Linked DNA regions of Homo sapiens: region 1 is linked to region 2. The links are contacts of gene promoters, found by promoter capture Hi-C in human tissues and cell types (Jung and others, 2019). All regions are on one chromosome and are shown on one strand. The core of a region is centred on a gene start or on the middle of the fragment in contact, and the rest is flanking DNA. Distances in the headings are between cores, read along the strand shown. Region 1 overlaps DHCR7 (7-dehydrocholesterol reductase). Region 2 holds the start of SHANK2 (SH3 and multiple ankyrin repeat domains 2).

Region 1 (2,700 bases), core at 164-2,663, 190 kb before region 2:
CGCCATAGAACCATGGGGACTTCGTGCAGGGTGAGTATCCTCTCCGACCTGGAACTGGGGAAACCACTGGCCTTGGTGGTTGTGAAAGACCTACCTCCGCTCATATTCTGAGCTCTGGGCCTTCCATGGGGGCCACAGATAGTGCCACCAGTTAATCAACTACAGTAGAGCAGGCATGTTGAGTGGCTTCCCTGGCCGCAAGGAGGGCCCGTGCTAGGAGCTAATGCCTTCTGTCATGGGGTACTGGTGGGTTTGAGCAACAGTTCTCCCACACAGAGCCTCTTAGGGTCCTGGTGGGGCCCAGGGCAGATGGGCCCCAGTGTGACTGCCTGCATCCGTCCTCGCAGGGAGGTGGACTGGTTTTCACTGGCGAGCGTCATCTTCCTACTGCTGTTCGCCCCCTTCATCGTCTACTACTTCATCATGGCTTGTGACCAGTACAGCTGCGCCCTGACTGGCCCTGTGGTGGACATCGTCACCGGACATGCTCGGCTCTCGGACATCTGGGCCAAGACTCCACCTATAACGAGGAAAGCCGCCCAGCTCTATACCTTGTGGGTCACCTTCCAGGTCAGCAGCCCCTGCCCTGGGGTTGGGACACAGCAGGTGGGGAGCGTGCCCTCCTGCTGGGGTAGTCCTTCCATTTGTCTGGGACATGGATCCTGGCTCAGGTTGACATCTGGGTTCCCGGGACCCAGCAGGGCATTCCCTGGACTCTGACATGTTCAGATTCATCCTCAGCTGTAAGGCAGGAGGCACCTGTCACATCAGCGTTTGATACACCTTCACGGCATGCCTGCATGCAGTTGCTGGGCACGCCCAGCTCTGCAGGGACAAGCTGAGGATAGGAGCAAAACCCCGTGGGAGGGCAGTGCTGTCCTGAGGAAGCCCCATTGTCAGCAGGAGTCACGCCTTGCACCAGGTCTGGAAAGGAGCATCTCAGTCCCCAAAGGGACTCTCTCAGTCATGAGATGCCACTCAGAGAAGCGAGGGCCATGTTTCCCCACAGGCAGTCGAGGCAGGTCCAGGACGTCCTCAGCTCCATGGTGTCCCCACTGGCCTCCCAGTCCAGAGGGAGTTCCAGGAAGGGGTTGTTGTAAACCTGGTGCACACATGGGTGGTGCTGATTGCCTGAACCCAGGAAAAGGTTTCCAGGGAAACGGTGCTAGAAAGAGACAGGCCTGGGTTTTCCTTCCTGGGCGGGAGGAAGGCTCAGATCATGATTAGCTGTTTCTCCCCAGGGTCCAAGCTTCTGGGCTCCAGAATACTTCTCAGTTCAGATCTCTTGGTCCCTTTGAGTGAAAAATGACAGGGGCAGTGTGAATCACAAATAGCCACAAAGCAGGAACCCCCACCTGTCCATCAGTAGATGAATGGACCCACAGAACAGAACACTGTGCCCACTGTGGGACACTATTTGGCAGCGGAAGGGAATGAAGCTCTGATGCCAGTAGGCGGATGACCCTTGAAGACACTGCTGAGCGAGAGAAGCCAGTCACAGAGGCTGCATACTGTGTGGTTCCCTTTATATGCAATACCCAGTACAGGCAAATCCACAGAGGCAGAAAGCTCAGTGGCAGCCAGGGGCGGCAGGGACAGGGAATTCAGAGTGACCGGAGATTGGAACAACATTTTCTTCTGTGGTGATGAAAAGTTCTGGAATTAGCAGTGATAGGTGTACAACCAACCATGTAAATGCGCTAAATGCCGCTGAATTGTGCACTTTAAAAGGGTGAATTTTAGCCGGGTGTGGTGGTGCACACCTGTAATCCCAGCTACTTGGGAGGCTGAGGTGGAAGGATCACTTGAGCTCAGGAGGACAACGCTGCGGTGAGCTATGATTGCACCACTACACTCCAGCCTGGGTGGTAGAACAAGACCTCATCTCAAAGATAGATTTATATATATATATAAAAAGTTGAATTTTATGGGATTCTCCATTTTAAAAAGGTGACTGGGAGGGACCTGTGCGCTCTCCTGAGGGGCGAATGGAGCCCTGGGGGAGAACGCCTTGGCACCTTCCCTGGTTGATGAGTTTATTGTCTCAGAACCCCCTTCAAAACCCACAGCCCAGCAGTTTGAGCTTCCAGGAGCCATAAGTGCTTCAGGAAGAAAAAGACTATGATTGTGATTCTCATGTTCCTGCTATGCGTCCCCCTTTGCAGGTGCCCTCCAGGCGGGGGGTGATCAGGCTGCTTGTGTGTTTCAGGTGCTTCTGTACACGTCTCTCCCTGACTTCTGCCATAAGTTTCTACCCGGCTACGTAGGAGGCATCCAGGAGGGGGCCGTGACTCCTGCAGGTAGCCTCCTCCCTTCCACCCTCCCCAGGCTCCCGTTCTCATCCCTTTCTCTCAGGGGCCAGTCCTCCCCAGCGCTGCTTTGTCCCTAAGACTTGTCACAGGATAGAAATCCATTTTGCTTGGATTTTTCACAGCACCAGGCCTCAAAACCATTGAGGGCAGCTGGGGCCATCCCACACCCAGGTTAGAAATCACTTTCCTGGGTAAGGAGGGAATGGATGGCCCAGCTCCTTCCCAGCCCCATAGCAGGGGATGCACTCGGCCCATGAAGCTTCCTGCAGAGACCACCATGCAGAGACCACCATTCCTCGGGGCTGTCCGTGGGAGACCTTGTCTGTTCATTCCTTGCCATCATTGAGAACCCACGAGGAGCCTGGCTTTGTGCCTCTCACGTGGGTGC
Region 2 (4,768 bases), core at 529-3,028:
CCTAGGGAAGTATTTCTTGGAGATAGCATAATGGCATCGGTCTTAAACCTTGCATGGAGATAGCCGAAAAATGTTCACAATTGAACTGTGACCAGCTGCCTGGTCTATCTGCAGCAGTGGTTCTAGAAACCTAGGAAGGGGTGTTCCAGGGGTGGGAATCTGGTGAGAGGAGGGAAATATCCTGAGGATAGGTCTTTGAGCTGGGTTTGCAGGGTAAATACACCACTTTATTCAGATGACTTGCCTTCTTTGGTGGGGAGGGTACTGATGGACTGTTATGGAAAGGTAGAGCCCCCACCCCCACTCCCTGCAACCCAGGTCTTGCATCTGCCACCGGCCAACCCAAAGAACATCCGATTGTCCTGCTCACACCTCTCCCAGGCACCCCAGCTTCCATGCCAAACAAAGGATGCCTGCAGGATCCTGTCAGGGCGTCCTTCTTCCTGTTTTGGGGATTATTATTTTTTGATTGATTGACTCCTTTATTCATTCAACAAATATTTTATCAAGTGTATGCTTAAGGAAGCAGCGACGAGAAAGACATTTACATAAGGCAGCTGCCCTCAAGGAGTTACAATATTTATTCCATGTGTGTCCTGAAATATTCAGGCCCCAAACACAACTTTTTTTTTTTTAACCTAAGTGCTTTTAAAGACTTCTTTGAAATGTGGGACAATTATGCAAGCTGAAAAAAAAAAGTATCTAGAGCAAATATTTAACTTTGCCTTTGGTATGTTGAAGTCACCAGCCCATGCAAACCTCTCAGGCATGTCCTGTAAGATAGACTGACTTACACACACACACACACACACACTCACTCTATGTAGGGGGCACAGTTAGGGGTTTGCATAATGCCGGGCTCCAGGGTTCTGGAGACAGTTCTACTCCACAGCTTGGACTCTGATCCCCACCCACACCTTCCAGAATACTGGAAAACTCAGAACACAGAGACCTCAAGAGCTTACTCAGAAACACGCAGCTCGTACTGGGGGAGACTCCCAGTGAATGATTAAGGCCTTGAGAAAATCTATCAGCCGATGGCTCACACGGCGGCCACAGCTCCAAGCTCAGGACCCGCCCCTTTGGGCTTCCGCAAACCTAGCAATCCGGAGTCCTGGATAATAACAGGATTCCTGGAGTCTCCGGAGGGTGCCTTTGGCCTCTGGGATTCACCCGAGCCGTTGGCTTTTGCTCCCCCCACCCCACCCCCTGGCTTTTCTTGGCTTGGAGGGCAGCTGGCGGAGATACCGTTGTGCACCCCTGGGCGGAAGGCGCCCCAGAACTGGTGGCCTGGGCAGCAGACGCCGGCGTATCACCCGGGTACAAAGTTTTCGTTTGCTCTGCAAACGTTTTGATGTGCAGGCAGCCTCTATTTCCAAATCCTATTATTATAAATACTCTGTGGCGGGAGCCAGCTGCGTTCGGGATAACCGTGCAGACCGAACCGGACTTTACAAAAATCAGGGACTTTCTCGTCCGCCGGCTTTGGCCAGGGAGGGGGAGGTCCGTGAGCCACGCAGCCCGGGGCGGGGCAGAGGCGGCCAGGGCGCCCCGCGGTCTCCCGGGGTTGCCACAACAGACCCCACGCGCACGCCCGAGCCGCAGCCGCGGGCGGGAGCGGGGTCGGGGCGGGGGACTGAGGTCCGCGGCGTGGGCGGGGGTGGGGGTCCAGGTCGGGTCGCCCGCGGGTCCTGGGCCGCACGCGTCCTTTCGGCGGCGAGAGGGCCCCTCCCCCACCCTCGCCGGAGCCAGCTCCCGCGCCGGGCGGGGCCGGGTCCTTCCCCACCCCCTGCACCTGAGCCGCGGCGGCGGCTCCTGAGCTCCGGCGGGGCTGGGCGCGGCGCCGCTCGGGTTCCCGCGGCCGATCCAGGTGTGCGCGGACGCTGGCGCTCCCGGGGGGCTCGGACCCGCCCCCGACTCGCCGAGCCAGGTGAGGCGGCGGCCGGGGACGCAGGGCGCGGGCCGGGGAGGACGGGAGGTGGCCCTTGGGCACCCGATCCTGCTCACTGACGGCATTTTGGGGGCATCTCGATTCCGGGAGCACCAACTACCGGGTAAGCGCAGTCCTGGACCCAGAGAGGCTGGAGAGGTGGGCGCTGGGGGGAGTGAGCCGCGTGTCCAGGTGGGGGTCGATTTTCCGTAGAGAGCCCTTCCCCCTGCATGCCTTTCTTCCCGGGCAGGGGCCGGTGTCGAAAGCTTTGGAAGCGGCGTGGGGGCAGAGCGCAGGAAGGAGCCCCCGCTTTATCTCCTGCGCGCATGGACCACGTAGTCTCTGGCGCGTCCTGCCCCTTCCTCTGGAACAGCGCGTGTGGCGCGACCTCCCCCGCTCTCCCGGGGTCTCCTTGCCCCGGGTCACCGCCCGCCAGCCCTAGGACCCGGGCCAGCGAGCCCAGCGGAGGAGCCGGCGCGGGGCCGCCAGGTGGCGCGCGGGGGCGGAGACCCGAACCGTGGCCGCCAGGTCCCCCGAGACCCCGCTGCGGTCACCCTGGCCCTGCACGCAGAGCTCCCATCCAGGCGCGCGCGGCGGCAGCAGCAGCTGTCGCGGAGAGGCCGGGGCCGGCGCGCCTGGTGCGGGCCCGGGGGTGGCGGGTCGGGCGCCCAGGTCCCGGGGGTCGCGCTGAGCCACAGCCGGGTGCCCGACCCCGGCCCGCCGTGCTCACCAGCTGGGATAGGGAGACCCGGCGGGCGCAGCCCGGCCGCCACCGTCCGTGAATTATGCAGGAAGCTGGCACCGGCGCGCTCGAGTTGATCAAGTTTCCCTGGCAACTTTCGCCCGGGCATCCCTCCTCCCCGGCGGCCGGGCAGCTCCGCCCGCCCAGCCCGCGGCCCAGGCGCCTCCACCGGGTGGCCCCGGCCCCGGGCGCCAGGCGCGGGGACCGCTCCCAGAGACGCCGACAGCGCACTCGTCACTTGGGCTGGAGCCGCCGGACTGAGCCAGCAGGTGCGACCACCGCAGCGGGCCTCGCCGCCCGGGTTCGGGGGGATGCGGGGGCTGGGGTGGACCTCGCCGCCAGGGTTCTGGGGCTTGGCGTGGGGGTGCAGCGCGGCGCCCTCCAGGCGGGTCTGCGTGCGGACACCCTGCTCGAGGTGGGTGGGCGCGTGGGCGAGGCTTGCCTTTCCGTGGGGCTGGAGCACCCAGAGGGAGAAAGGGTGGTGCAGGTGACCGTGGGTTTTCGCAGCCGATCTTTTAAAGGGGCTCGGGGCGCCTGGAACTGAGAAGGCGCTCGAGCCAGGCAGGTGAGGGGTGGGTGGTGGGGGGGTCAGGCGAAAGTACGTAAGGCTCTCGGGGGCTGGCAGCTGCTGGCAGGGGCCTGGGCGTCCTCAGAGGCCATCCGAAAATAAAGTGGTTTTCGGGTGGAAATTCGAGGTTGTAAATTGGATAGTTGAGTGACCTCTTTTTCGTTTGAAACTCAAGTTCGAACGTTAATGAGGCCAATCAGCTAATTAAGCTTCCAGATCCAGAGAGGTAATTTCGGAAGTCCCCCGGTGGGGGAGGGCGATTTGATCTCTATCTGGGATGTGGGCCTCGGTTTTGCCGACCCAGCCACAAGGGAAGTTCTGCGCCCCTGGAAAAGGACCTGGCAGATTCAGCCTTAACCCCGGTGCCCTGCGGTCCGCATCACATAGTTAGTGACGCCCTTCTGTGCACTAGGAACCGAGCCTGGTGCCCCAGAGGGTTCAGCAGGTCCAGAACAGCCCCGGGCCGATTGCTTTTGGAGTTTTCCAACTACTTGTGGGTTGGAAACAAGGTTGAGGGTCCTAATAGGGTTGAGCCTGTGGGGGTGGAGTGAGGAGAGCGAGCTCGGCCCCCATCTGGGTTCAGTGTTAATTCTGAGGGAAAGCCGTCGTGTCTGCTCTAAGAGGGGGATTGGTAGGTGGGAGCTGTGGGTTTCTATGCCGGATGTCACTGTCCTCTGAGGGGGCTTGAGGGAGACTCTTGTCCTGATAGGAATCTGGGTGTCCCAGTAGTGCCTGAATGATTCAGCTCCTGGGAAGCACTGTCTATATAAGGCCTCTGATTCCATTATTACACCCAGGAATTCCTTGTTTTCCTGGAAGGAAGAATTGGGTGGAAAGCTTGGTGCTTCTTTGGGTCCCTTTGGAAGGAGGTTGGAATTCAAGTATCAAAGGTAACTCTTTACAAGTAGGTGATTTCACCTATAAAGATGATCCCAGAGGGCTCGGTTGACAGCACTTGGCTGCTTTTAACAAATTAGATTCCCCCCCACCCCCGGGGAGGGGGGCGGTCTGTTGGGGGGATCTTTCTGTGTACTGTCTCCAAGTACAGTCTGCTATAGAAAACCGTATTCCTATTTGGGTGAGTTTCAAGATTTTCATTCATTCATTTCTTCATTCAGGTGCTTAGGGTTGTATGCAGGGCCATGCTGGCTTCTAGGGGTCTTGGTCTAGGCCTGGGCTTGGGGAGCCAGGTGATATCAGATGTGAGTGCTGCCCAGAGGAAGGTAAAGGGATTCTGAGACCGCATTGCATTTTATATTTCATTAGTGACGAGGAAAAGGATGGGAGAGAAAAACGGGCCGGGAATTAACCAGTATACAGAAACACACTCCTAAAAATGGCTCTTTATAGGAAGGCAGTGCTTTAGCATACTTGCCTTACTTCCAAATACGTAACAGAGTTGCAGACGAGAGAGTTCTGGGATCCCCGTCAGTCCCGATGAGGACTTTTCTAAAGTGGGGCTCAGCTTGGGAGTTGCTGCAGGGCCTGAGGTTGTGCCTCCTACTCTGAAAGAGTTCTGGGCCTGGAC

Evidence for each region. Contacts are between HindIII fragments. The study calls those that stand out against the background at their distance.
Region 1: a contact is called between a fragment that was not itself captured here and the fragment with the promoter of SHANK2 in region 2, in 1 of the 25 tissues and cell types used here (pancreas).

What each region holds. Positions count from the first base shown.
Region 1 is chr11:71,441,863-71,444,562 of GRCh38, reverse strand. It overlaps DHCR7 (7-dehydrocholesterol reductase), which reads left to right. Exons shown (of 9, transcript NM_001360.3): 4 at 348-570; 5 at 2,210-2,300. Among named protein-coding and RNA genes, the nearest start is that of DHCR7, 5.2 kb to the left of the region's middle. The HindIII fragment of the contact is 6,551 bases long and covers 1-2,700 here.
Region 2 is chr11:71,249,587-71,254,354 of GRCh38, reverse strand. It overlaps SHANK2 (SH3 and multiple ankyrin repeat domains 2), which reads left to right and starts at 1,778. Exons shown (of 26, transcript NM_012309.5): 1 at 1,778-1,930. The HindIII fragment of the contact is 4,011 bases long and covers 1-2,823 here.